Regions from separate parts of the Homo sapiens genome. Here region 1 is linked to region 2. Evidence: promoter capture Hi-C in 16 types of primary human blood cells and fetal thymus (Javierre and others, 2016). All regions are on one chromosome and are shown on one strand. The core of a region is centred on a gene start or on the middle of the fragment in contact, and the rest is flanking DNA. Distances in the headings are between cores, read along the strand shown. Region 1 holds the start of METTL14 (methyltransferase 14, N6-adenosine-methyltransferase non-catalytic subunit). Region 2 holds the start of TBCK (TBC1 domain containing kinase).

Region 1 (6,785 bases), core at 2,141-4,640, about 12 Mb before region 2:
TCCATTTTGTCTTCATCTGTCTCTCCTTCATCCAGATACTTACGTTTTGCATTTGGAGCAGAGGTATCATAGGAAGCCCTGAAAAATAAACAGAAATATTACCCATAAATATATACAAGATGTATAAATGCATCTATTAATAATAATAAACAGGTTATAAAAACAGAACAAGACAAATTTTTCCTGATTAAAGAATATCTATCTACGCAGTTTATAAGTCATCCAAAAAGTCAAATAACCTGATTGATAATTCTGTGTTTCATTTTTATCAGAAAGCAACCAAATGAGAAAATAAGCTGCTATAAGGGATATATTGAAAATAAATTTATATAGTATGTATTATTTTAATCTGTTTTGAGCAAAACAGACGTACAAATTGAAAACTAGAATAGCGAAAAAATTTTGAAATGCTTTCTGAACTACCAAATAAATACCACTTTTAGGATAAAGTATATTTTCTTTTATAAAAATTTTTAGGCTGGGCATGGTGGGTCATGCCTGTAATCCCAGCACTTTGGGAGGCCAAGGCAGGCGGATCAAAAAGTCAAGAGATCGAGACCAGCCTGGCCAACATGATGAAACCCCATGTTTACTAAAAATACAAAAATTAGCTGGGGGTGGTGGCGCGCACCTGTAGTCCCAGCTACTGGGGAGGCTGAGGCAGGAGAATTGCTTCAACCCTGGAGGCGGAGGTTGCAGTGAGCCGAGATTGCGCCACTGCACTCAAGCCTGGTGACAGAGCGAGACTCTATTTCCAAAAAAATGTTTAAATATACTTGTTTATTTATAGTATATATGCTAATTCTTAGTCTAACATTCCATTTTCTAAGTACTTTACAAATGGGAACTTACTATCCTCAGAAAATAAATATTTTATAATTAATGAACTGACAATAAAAACCATTGTGTCTAAAATCATTATTTTGATGCTTTTCTTAATACACTGCATACCTACCTAGGGTTATTTATTAAAACAGTAATCCTTTCACATTTTTTTTTTTTTTTTGAGACGGAGTCTCACTCTGTCTCCCAGGCTGCAGTGCAGTGGCACAATCTTGGCTCAGCTCACTACAATCTCCGCCTCCCGGTTTCAAGCAATTCTACTGCCTAAGGCTCCCGAGTAGCGGGGATTACAGGAGCCCGCCACCATGTCTGGCTAATTTTTGTATTTTTAGTAGAGATGGGATTTCACCATGTTGGCCAGACTGGCCTCGAACTCCCGACTTCCTGGGCTCAAGTGATCCACCTGCCTCGGCACAGTGGCTCATATCTGTAATCTCAGCACTTTGGGAGGCCAAGGCAGGTGTACCACTTGAGCCCAGGAGTCAAGGCTGCAGTGAGCCATAATCATGCTACTGTACTCCAGCCTATCCAGCCTAAGCAACAGAGTGAAACCCTGTCTCAAAAAAAAAAAAAAAAAGAATTATCTGACTGACCTGCAAGTTTCTCTTGTTTCAGCAATTTCTCTCTGCTCATCTTTGCTATTTAACACGGCACCAATGCTGTCGGCACTTTCAGCTCCCAACTGAGAAAAGACAAAATCAGAAATTAGATTGCAATGCACTGGATAGCCTTTCTGGGCATTTGTAGCAGCATTTAATACATTAAATACTTAAAAAACAAAAACACCTTAATTCACACACACACACACACACACAAAACAATGAATTAATCAGCTTGCAAGACAAACTGGAAAAACTCTGGAAAAAAACCGCATTAATTAAGATGAGTTTGACAGCTGGCAAAACATTTTATGCTTTCAGTTATACAGCGGCTCCTTGATTTATGATGAGGTTATGTCCTGATAAACCCATTGTAAGTTGAAAGTAAATCTGTTTCAAAATAAACGTTGTAAGTGTGTTTTCAAGTTACAATATTTTCCACTTATGATGGGTTTATCAGAACACAACTCCACCGTAAGTCAATGAGCAGCCTGGATGCCTATCACTCTCAAACCATCATAAAGTCAATTGTTAAGTCAAATGATAGTAAGTCTGGAACCATCTGTATTTGAAAATAAGACACTTTAGCCAATTTCCTGTGAAGCAATACACACGATTTAATATAAAATGAGCATTCCAAATCTGAAAATCCAAAATCCAAAACGCTCCAAAATCTGGAACTTTTTGAGTACTGACATGACATTCAAAGGAAATGGTCACTGAAGCATTCCGATTTTGAGTTTTGGTATTTGGCATGCTCAACCAGTAAGTAATATGCAAATATTCCAAATCCTGAAAAAAATCTGAAATCCAAAACACTTCTGGCCCAAGCATTTCAGATAAGAGATATTCAACCTGCAATAGCAATAACTAAAAAAGGCAGATAAGACAGTGTTTGCACAGGGTTGTGGGTACCATGTTAAACATTTTGTAGGCATCAGCTTATATAACTTATTTATTCTATGCTCTAATAAAAATCGATCCAGTTTTACTCAAGCTAAGTCTTACTATTTATAGACACAAGGCTGAACTTTACTACCTTAAAATGGTAACATAAATTTTGTTTGGCAGTTTGGAAAATTTTGCAAAATACAAACAAATGTAAACAAATAATGGTTATAAGGCTGGCTAAGTAGAGTGCAACCAATTCATAAAAGACTTTAAAAGGTAGAGCCCCTGGCATCTGCTGAGTGTAAAACACTAAACAAATAATTGTCCTATGAATGTATATTGAGTCAAATAGAAGTTTGAATTCAATATTAAGGAGTAAAACGTCTTCTGTGGTAGCAACAAAGAGCTACTTAACATTTTTGAAGATAATACGATAAAAGAAGTTGGCGAAAAGAAGACTTAGAAAGGATACTTGATTTGCCCAAGATCGTAATGCCAGCGGGATAAGGAACAAAGGAACAAATCTGACTCCAAGTTTCCACGGTTTTAGCCATATTCCACAAATCTGTTCATCAGACCATAAAGAGGATAGGTTTCAGAAGTCCATTTACTAAAACCAAGTTTCATTACTGAAAAATAACTGCAAGATGACTAATTACACTCTATGAGCATTGCTCCTATCACTTTTACTGATCTGAATAGTAGAATGGAAAATACAGCCTCGATTTTAAGTAGAACTGTGCACAATCTGTATTTTCTGCATGTGCACTCTACTAATCAGCAAATGTTAACTTACTCATACACAAGAAAGAAGTGAAGGACAATGGTTTAGAAGACAAGCTTTGGGGAGACAAACCTAGGTTCTATTTCCCAGCAGAGAAGTGAGCGACCAGGAGTAAAATTCCTTAACGTATGGAGCCTTTTTCATTACTTGATAAGTGAAGGTAATAATACCTGTTTCAGGAGATTATTGTGACTAACACAGAGTAAGATTTCAAATATTAACTGTGGATGTGACAAGGATACTCTATATAAGATGCAGAATCTAAAATTTACACTCAGGCTACTTCCAGTGTTGTCTTCAGAAAGATGTCAAAGAAAATACTGTAAACGTATTTCATAATGAAACCACAATCTCAAGAATTTGGGGCTGACGACGAAGAAAAGAAAGAAATAGATGACCATTTAATAGTGAAGAGAAATGTAGGGGATAACATGACACTCATCCTGGCGTGAACATGCCAGACACTCGGTGGGAGTTCCACAAAGCTTAAAGGCTAATCCTGGCATTCGGTTTAGCACCACAAAGACCGCGGAAGGAACTGGAAAAACATTCGGGACACCGCGAAAATTGAGAACTACAAAGGCAGAACCAGGGATCAAGATCGCAGGACCAGAAAGGCCTTAACAGCGGCAGGTAGAGAAGGGACAGAAAAAGGCGGGGTGTGGAGGGAGGAGGCGGCCGCGCACTCGCATTCTCGATCCCTCCCACAGGGGACACCAGGGCCGCGGACCTGCTGCGCGAGGAGCTGTCGCCGTAACTTCTGCCGCTCCCGGATCTCCTGCAAGCGGCTATCCATGTTCCAACTCCGGCTTTTCACTATCCCGAGTACTTGTCAATCTCCAGTGAACTCTTATCCAACCTTTCTTCCGAGTCTGTGGAACAAAATTCACCGGGAGCTTACGAACAGAGTATCCTCATAGCTTTCCTCAGTAGAGACTTCCGGCGCGGCCGGAATTGGCTCGCTTGGCCCGGAAGTCCCGCCTCCTTCTGGACGCTTGCTATGTGACGCCACTTGGAAGGGACCCAGTAAGGGATCTGTTGCGCCACAGGGGTCTCCAGGGCCCTCGCAGGTTGGGGTGGTCTGAGCTAGTCTGAAGGAGGACAGTCAGCTGACTTCTCCTTTATCTCTCTTTCCCAGGATAGCAGGTTCCCTTGGTGTATTACAGTTTCTGAAGTGTTGATTCCCTTTTCAATTGATTCCACAGATGACAGTCCTGACGTTTAAAAAATTGCCAGATAACCTTTAATTTTTTTTTTTTTAACAGAACACAAACTTAAGCCAGATTGCCTAGGATTGAACCTTGGCCTCTCACTTCCTAGACGAGTGGCCTTGGCTAGTTAACCACCTTCGTGAGCCTCAGTTTTGTCATCTGTAAAATGGGAGTCATAAGTGTCTACCTCACAGAGCTGTGATTGAAAGGATAAATAGCACCTTGCACATAGCGGTGTAGAAGTGCTTGTTATTGTTAATATTTTATTTACCTTCACGCAGGTAACAGCCACAACATCTGCCCACTCTTCCCCACACCTTACTGTCCCTTGAAATGTTTCCCATTTTACTATAGTATGCATTTTTTGGCTTCTTCCCTTTAGGGAAATGAGTATGTGATAGTAAAGCGTGTCTTGGTTTATGTCCTAGGAGTCAGAAGCTAAGAGACTCCTTTTTGTGCTTGTACATTTGTCTTAACTGAAAATAACCCAAGGATAAGGAAACAAATAGCTTCCTGAAATTACTCGGATTGCGGGGGTGAGGGGTGAGGGCTGGGGGGTGGTGATTCTGTCTTCATAGGATGGCAGCAAAGGCCAAAGTCTTATTTGAGTTATTACCATTATTATTCACCACACTTGCCATCTTATTTCAAGCCTACAGTGGCGGAAGTGGAGTAAGACATCATGTTGCCTCAAGTTTAATTGGAAATCGCGGTAAGTACTTAACAAAATTAGTAATAAGTCTGTTCTTTCAGAGTAGATTTAATTTTCAGAAATAATATTAAGTCATCCAGATCAAAACCAGTTGAGTCAGGCTGGGCCAAAAGTGGGCAAGACTAGATTCTACTTAGTCATGCCCACTTTTATAGAAATAATTATAATGTATTTCCGAAGAACTAGGTCTGAAAGACAATTTTGAACAAGTAGTCCTAAACAATTCCTTGAGTAATGTCAGCACTACTTGGATACTGTAAAATATTTATGTCCATATGAGTTAAAGTGTATTTCTTTAAAAATCAGTTGTATTATCTGGCAATCATTTAAGTTGAATACTGATTTAAATTTTACCAATGGTGAGAATAGGCAATTATTCACTTAAATATCTGTTGATATTGATTGAGCATTTTATATGGCAAGCACTGTGATAGGCCCTAGAGTCTATAAAGTCTGTCAAAGATTAAAAACTAAAGTCGGTTTTTCTTTATGAGTTTACTGTCTAATGGAGGATTTTTCTTTTTCCTGATAAGTTGCTATGCAGGTTACTTGCTTGTAATCTTTGAACCCCATACTCACCTACCCTCTGCTTCGAGATGATGGCTAGGCAGGGAGTCCACAAACTACATTTCCCAGCCTTCCTTGTTAGATGGCTTCCTGTAAGACTCTGCCCACAGGAGGCACAGGCAGGAAATCAAAAGGTGGAACATGGGAAAGCTATTGTCCATTTATTTTACTCTCTGCTTCTGGCATCTAGAGCGATGACTATGTCCCTTACAAAGTCTAGAGCCAGTTGGAGCAGCCCCTCCTTTCCTTACCTTAAGAAAGTGACACCCTTAACAGTGAGTGAGTTTGCTCTTGTGCTATGATACTACTACTTCTACCTTCTGTTCCACCAGCTCAAGGACTGGTAGCCATCCTGCAGTTTAAAATTTCTGATTTAATCTTACTTCTCCCTTTTTGCTCTTCTAGCCTTCAATATCTGCTTAACTATTTCTCCATAGTGAATGGCGTCTGTTTAAAATACTTTTAATTATTTGTTTTCCTGCCTGGAACTGTACTGATGCAGATATGTACTTCCATGTAATATTTACAAAACTGTTGGAGTTGGGCAGAGGGTTGTTGCAGTTTGTACAAAGAAGGGGATATAATTTTGAAATCTCTCTCCCAACTAATGAATTTTAAAACACCAGACCACATCAGCATACTTGTAGAGAATTTTACAAGCCCATCAGTAACATCTGTTCATTATGACAACATAAAGGCCACTAGGGGGTGTGTGTGGCAGGAAGAGGGGGAAGAAATTTCGGAAGTCCTCACATAAAATCCATACTTTTTGAAGAAGCAATTTACTTCTAGGCACTTAATTTAAGGAAGTAAAGAGAGATCCACATTATAACTTATGCATCTCTCCCCAAGCTCCTGGAGACTGACTCCTCCAAACCTATACTCTACAACTCATGATGCTCCCCAACTTATGATGGGGCTATGTCCCAATAAATCCATTGTAAGTCAAAAAATCGTTAGGTGGGCCAGGCGCAGTGGCTTACGCCTGTAATCCCAGCACTTTGGGAGGCCAAGGCCAGCGAATCAACAGAGATCAGGAGGTCAGCCTGGCCAACATGGTGAAACCCCATCTCTACTAAAAATAAAAAAATTAGCCAGGCGAGGTGTTGGGCGCCTGTAATCCCAGCTACTTGGGAGGCTGAGGCAGGCGAATCGCTTGAACTGGGGACGCGGACGCT
Region 2 (6,213 bases), core at 2,618-5,117:
ATTTGTAGAACATGCGCTATGGCTGGCTAAATGCTTTACACAAGTCAATTTCGAATACTGTAATAATCTCCATTATACAGAGAAGAAAACTTGAATTAAAATTAATTTGCCTCATGTAATACATAGTAAACGAGGATTGAAACTCAGGTCTGTCTGATGCTGCAGTTAGCTCTTTTAATGCTCTAGCTATAATTTCTCTAAAGGATATAATTACGAAGCATTTTCCAATATATTTAATGACAGAATCCTAACACAGGAACAGCTATTAACATTTATTTGAACTAGTATTCTCTAAAACAGTTTAGGAAATGCTAGTTTAAGTCTCTGGACTAAAATGTAAAAAAATTAAGACTGTGAGATTAAAATAGATATAAGAATGACATGCACAGTAATTGAAAATATAAAACATTTATGAAGAGAGAAGCACAGAAAACTGTAGACCAAGTATGTTAATTGTGTTTGGTGAGGATCAAGACCTTTTCTTTTTCCTTTACTAAATTAAAATGGTAATAATGCATTTTTTAGGACAAAAGCTTTTGAAACATATTATCTAAATCATTCTGTCCCTTCACATTAATTTTGTCCTTCTCAATGTTAATTATCATACTTCATCAAACCTAAAAAGCCATTAATCATACGATGCCTCTAATGCAGAATCCCAAATACTGTACATGAATTTATAGTACATCTTAATCATTAAAATACACACACAAAAGATGATTTTTGAGATTCTGAGATCTTCACTATCATTTTTGTTTACTGAGCAATTTCCTCAGTAGTCCTCCCCACCCACACCATCTAAATTGCCTGCAATCTTTTTGAAAAAGCAAAATCTCTGCCCCACGATGACAACATTGGGAATCAAACATAAGTAAGTTACTACTTTGAAATCAAAGTTTTACAGGCAGACTTTTAATTTTAGAATTCTTATGCTATATAGGAACGCTACACAAATTTGAAAGTGTCTCTACTCAAAACCTCTAATTTCCCTATTTCAGAATTACAGTAGGTAAAAATTTACATTTTTGTTGGAAGCTTTAAATACTATACAAGAAATCTAAAATGCCATCAATTGTAAAATGGCTTCAATCCCAAGAAGCTCTATTATTTTATGTACATTATGAAAAAAAACACTATTGAATCAACTGACCCAATGCTTTCTTATTACTTAGACACATCCTATATTATTTATTGACAGACTTCTTTTAAATTTAACCCTGGATTTTTATCTTGTATCACCCTTTGTTTCCCCACATACACAGTAACTTTTCATTCTAATGCTAATCATAATCTTCTAAATGATCTTTAAAAGGGAAATTACACTCAACAACTATATGCCAATAGTGCATATATAACTCAACTGAAATAATGACAAGATTAAGTTATGACTAAGTGGGTGTAAGTGTGGGCAATGACAAATATCTCACAACTGCCAATTCATCTACAGTGATTTAAAGATGTCAACAACTTAAAAATACATCCCTATTTCAGAGATGTTAAGTAAGAGAAAAATGTGTATCTCAGAATTGATGGAATATAGTAATTTTAATCATTTTCTTCCTTTCTTCTCCTCCCTTCATTCCTATTCTTGCCTTCCAACTTCTTTCCCTGATTTGCTACACAATCTAATTACTGGATATGTAAAAATATTATAGTATACATAAAATACCCCACACTGAAAGACCGTCCTTATTATAGTGTAAAGCAATGTGGTACCTTTTAGCACTAGGTGAAAATTCCTGCTAGGATTTAAATCATATGTGTCAAAAGTCAGAATTTAAAGAAGAAAATTAAATACACTGAGAACAATGCATCTGAAGACACTCAAAATATGTAAGCGCAGCAACCAGCAGTAATTCCCTAGGTCTTTTATCAACCTTTGCCAAAACCTATAAAAAGAATATCTAAAATTGCTTTTTTATGGAAGTTCCTATTTCCCTTACCAGACAGCCTGCTTTCCCTTTACTGATGAGGACATAGGGGGTCCTGGAGGGTTTAAAGGATGGCTATAAGGAATGACTATAGGGTGGACAGCTATGAGAGGCCAGTCCATGCATTTCTAAATACCATCGTCATTAACACAAAAACTTTCCTCCCCAGTACAGAGTCCATAAAATTTAAAAAGGAGTATGCCTTGGCCTCCCATGACCCTCTTACCTCACAATAAGGCCATCTTTTACCTGGTTAAGATTTGCAGACTAGACCCATTACATACCTTGTCATTAAATACCTATAATATACCCTAACCTTTGCAATCTTGACAGATGTGATTTCCATTTTATAGACAGATCCAGGAAAATTACATGACTTATCTGAATCCCTTCAAGTACCACATAGCAAAGCCATGATTTTAACTTGTGTTTGCCACTCTGAAACTCACACTGGAATTCATTTTTCAAGTGTCCTCCAAAGCCTAATTAAATAAAATTAACCCTGTCATCTATAATACTCTTACATATCCAAATTAAGTGCATCAAGAATATAACTGGCCATTTCTTACCACCCATAGTCAAACCACCATTATGCTTCCTCTGGATTATTGCAAAACTCTTCTTATTGGTCTCCTTTCTCCTACCACGTCCTCCTCTGTGTATTTTCCTTAAAGAGTGACCCTCTTAAAAGGAAGTCAGAGCCCATCACTCTACTGCTCAAAACGCTCCAAAGTCCTATTTCATTTAGAATAAAAGTTAGATGTCCTCAAGATCTTCATGACCTGCTCGCCTTGATTTAATCTCCAGTGAAGGACTAAACCCTTCACTCAACTCTGCCCTACAGGCCTCCTTGCTATTCTAGCACGTTTCTGCTTCATGACCTCTGCAATGGCTGGTCCCTCTGTCTGACTGCACTTTCCCAAGATATTCGCGTGGTTAAATCTCCCACTTCTGTCAGCCCTTTACTTAAAAGTCATCTTTTCAGCAAGACCTTCCTGTGTCACTTTATACCCTTCTTCCCTGCTTTACGTTTCTCTTCAGGACTATCACGACCTAAAATACAGTATGTTTCTAATTACTTTGCTTAGTATGTGCCTTCCTCTCTAAAATGTGAGCTACAAGTAGACACAGATTTCCGTCTGTTTTGTTCACTGCTGTTCACCTAATGCCTAGAACGGTGTCTGGAATAGAGTGGGCGCTTAATAACTATTCGCTCAATGAATAAATTCCTGTCTTCACCCTCCTCTCCCCCAAAGCACCTAAGTCCTTTGACACACACATTCACATAACAGTAAATACGCTTAGGGATCGATATTTTTCTGTAGCATTCTTAACTTAGGCCTGCATCCCATTTCTCAAACGTGGCTCCTTTAGAAGGAAGTCTCAAACTCTTTCCTGTTTCCTTAGGCCAGGGCTGGTCCTGCTGCGAACGGACTACCCATTAGCAGCGCAGGCCAGGTCCTCTCTCCTGGAGGCAAGTTAGAGAAGGAAGACCCCTACGATCGCAATCGGCGATCCCCGAGTGAGTGACCCGCCACGACGTCACTCACATGAAGCGGAGGACCACGGGTTCCGAGACAGCCACAGCAGGAAGCATGTAGGTCCAGCCACCCGCGTACTATAGCAGTGAGAAAGGACCCAATGAGGTGTCCTTGCTGAAAGCCTGAGTGTTCTACAGATTCAACCCTCAATTCTTTCTTCCTCTTCCTGTGCTCAGTCCCATTAACCTGCCATACCACGCTCCTCGTCTTCCATTCCCTCACCCAGTATTTTCAATCGACCCCCCCCGTCCCCCCGCACCTCTTTCTCTCTCGCTATATGTCCTTTCGTGGCCAGTTTGGGCAAGGGGAAGGACACCACAAGTCGGGGTCTTTCCTCAGCGTTGGGTCGCGGTGGCTGTGAGGGCGGAAGAAAAGGCCAGGCTGAGGGGAGGGTAGAGGGTGAAAAGCTCGGATCTGTGTTTGGGGAAGGCCAGGCTTGCGCTCCTCGCCGGGTTCCGCGAAGGTTAACCTTGGCTGACTTGGCTCGCGAGCAAAGGGCAGCGTCTGAGCTCCCGGCGTTCCAGGAGTGGCCTCTTTTGTAGGAGCACCTGAAATGCAGCGTCTGGTGCACTAAGCCGTAGCGGCAGCAGCAGCCACAGCGACAGCGCTGGGGCCCTGTGTAGAAGCTCCATCCCCCTTGTCTTTGTGCTTGCCTGCGTCCCCAGACTCAGAGGCAGGTATTTGGGTAATCCAGTTTTCCGTGTCGTAGTGGGTGGGGTCTGTGGGAGGTAGAGGACTATCAGGAGCAGTGAGTGGCCCCGCATGTCTTCAGAATAGATAGAGAACCGAGCTGTGGAGCCGCTTGCTGATAGGTACTGTCTCCATCCCTAGCTACAGCCCGCCTTTCCTGTAAATCAGGTTCACCTGAGTCGTTTGGGAACCGTAGGCTTAGTAATCGCTCTGTCACTGCCTCAAAGGAAGGCTAAAGGAGGTTAGAGAATCTAGAATCCGCCCCTCCATTACTCACCTTGGAGGCAGAATTTTGCTTTGGTTTGTTTCTGGCCCTCGAGGTTTAGTCAGTCGTCAAAGTGTAACACCCCCTTGAGCAGTAGGAGAAAGTGAAGCAGAGGAAGGAAGTTACTTGAGGATTGTCAGTGGCTGCTTTTCAAGGATCCCTGTCCTGGTTTCTATCTATTTGAGACAAAAATAACCTCTTGAGAGAATGTATATATAAAATAAATGAATTAGTATCATTTTCCTGTTGAAGAAATGTGAAATTTTATTCATGATAAAATCGGCGTCTTTTGCCCTATTTTTTACTTTCTTTCCCCATTCGAGTCGTTTAAAACTCTAAGTTCTTTGAGGGCACAGAGTCTGACTTGTTCATTATCCTTTGCCCACCAGCTGGAAAAACAACTGACTTAAAATAGGGGCTTCAAAATATTTGTTGAATGAATGAATTTTCAAGCCCAACTGCTTGCACTGCTGTTTCCCTCATCTAATCTCTCATCTCTACGTTTTTTTTCCCCCGGTAGTTTTCTTCCACTCACGAGGTGTAAGTGAATGTATGTGTGTGTATTTTTGTGTGTGAGCCTTTTTATGTACAACCATTTAAGAGGTAGTGGAAAAAGAACACTGATTATGCTAATTAGTGTTTTATCTTTTTCGATCATTGTGTTTTATTTGGTTATTTTATTTTCAGCTATGTGATGATAAAGACATCTGATTGAAAATAAAATGGTCGGGCGCGGTGGCTCACGCCTGTAGTCCTAGCACTTTGGGAGGTCGAGGCGGGTGGATCACCTGAGGTCAGGAGTTCAAGACCAGCCTGGCCAGGATGGTGAAACCCCGTCTCTACTAAAAATACAAAAATTAGCCGGGCGTGGTGGCGGGCGCCTGTAATCCCAGCCACTCTGGAGGCTGAGGCACAGAATCGCTTGAACCCGGGAGGTGGAAGGATGCAGTGAGCCGAGATCATGCCACTGCACTCCAGCCTTGATGACAGAGTGAGACTCTGTCTCAAAAAAAAAAAAAAAAAAAAAAAAAATCAAGTAGTATAGCGTAGTAGGATTGAATAATAAAGTGCAACTGTCTCACCTGTCCTACTCTCAGTACTGTTCTTCAAAGATAACCACTTTTAACCTTTTCTAATTTTAGGTCTGTAGGTTAAATAATAAGTTAAACTGTTAATTCTTTTTGTTGACTTCTTGAGATAGCCCTAAGTTGAACTGCTAATTCTTTTTCCGTTGACTTCTAGAAATAGCCCACACCATTCACAATCTCCTCTGAATTTTGGAAGAGTCATAATCATAATTTTTAGTTTTTGTATTGGTTACTTTATAATTCAAAATAATATACGTAAACTACTTTTTTCACATCAACTTTTGAAAATATATTTGACTCCTTGTTTGGTAAAACGAGAAAAGTAGTGATTCTACCTTTTTCTTTATCACTTCAGAAACTACATTTATGCCCACTTTCTCTTAGCTGGACATTTACTTGTACATTGTCAAAGTTAGTAATATATTTCTTAACTATAACATTTGCGCTTTATTCACGTGCCAAAAACCAATAAAAAAAATAAAATGTTTACAGTATTATGGCTTTATAGTTGTTACTTAGAGCAAGTCCAAGCTGTATGCTCTGATATGTTTTTTTCCCCAGAGTTTTAACTTCATGATCCCTGTGCCATACTAAGGAGATTATTTATGATATCAAGGTCAAATGGGTTTTTATTTCTTTCCTGCCAAGGGCAAAATATGCTGTAGTTGAGCATGCTTTATATTTTGGAGTATGTAATA

The links. Contacts are between HindIII fragments. The CHiCAGO score rates a contact against its expected background, and 5 or more counts as called.
Region 1: a contact is called between a fragment that was not itself captured here and the fragment with the promoter of TBCK in region 2, in 1 of 17 cell types (total CD8 T cells). The highest score is 7.8, in total CD8 T cells.

Annotation. Positions count from the first base shown.
Region 1 is chr4:118,682,663-118,689,447 of GRCh38, reverse strand. METTL14 (methyltransferase 14, N6-adenosine-methyltransferase non-catalytic subunit) reads right to left here and starts at 4,056. Exons shown (of 11, transcript NM_020961.4): 1 at 3,848-4,056; 2 at 1,437-1,525; 3 at 1-78. The coding sequence starts at 3,913. METTL14-DT (METTL14 divergent transcript) reads left to right here and starts at 4,107. Exons shown (of 7, transcript NR_125930.1): 1 at 4,107-4,143; 2 at 4,981-5,040. RefSeq lists enhancers at 3,518-3,657, 3,838-4,097. The HindIII fragment of the contact is 429 bases long and covers 3,176-3,604 here.
Region 2 is chr4:106,313,863-106,320,075 of GRCh38, reverse strand. It overlaps TBCK (TBC1 domain containing kinase), which reads left to right and starts at 3,867. Exons shown (of 26, transcript NM_001163435.3): 1 at 3,867-4,145. It overlaps AIMP1 (aminoacyl tRNA synthetase complex interacting multifunctional protein 1), which reads right to left and starts at 3,526. Exons shown (of 7, transcript NM_001142416.2): 1 at 3,482-3,526. RefSeq lists enhancers at 3,318-3,567, 4,058-4,117, 4,198-4,287. The HindIII fragment of the contact is 5,300 bases long and covers 1,038-6,213 here.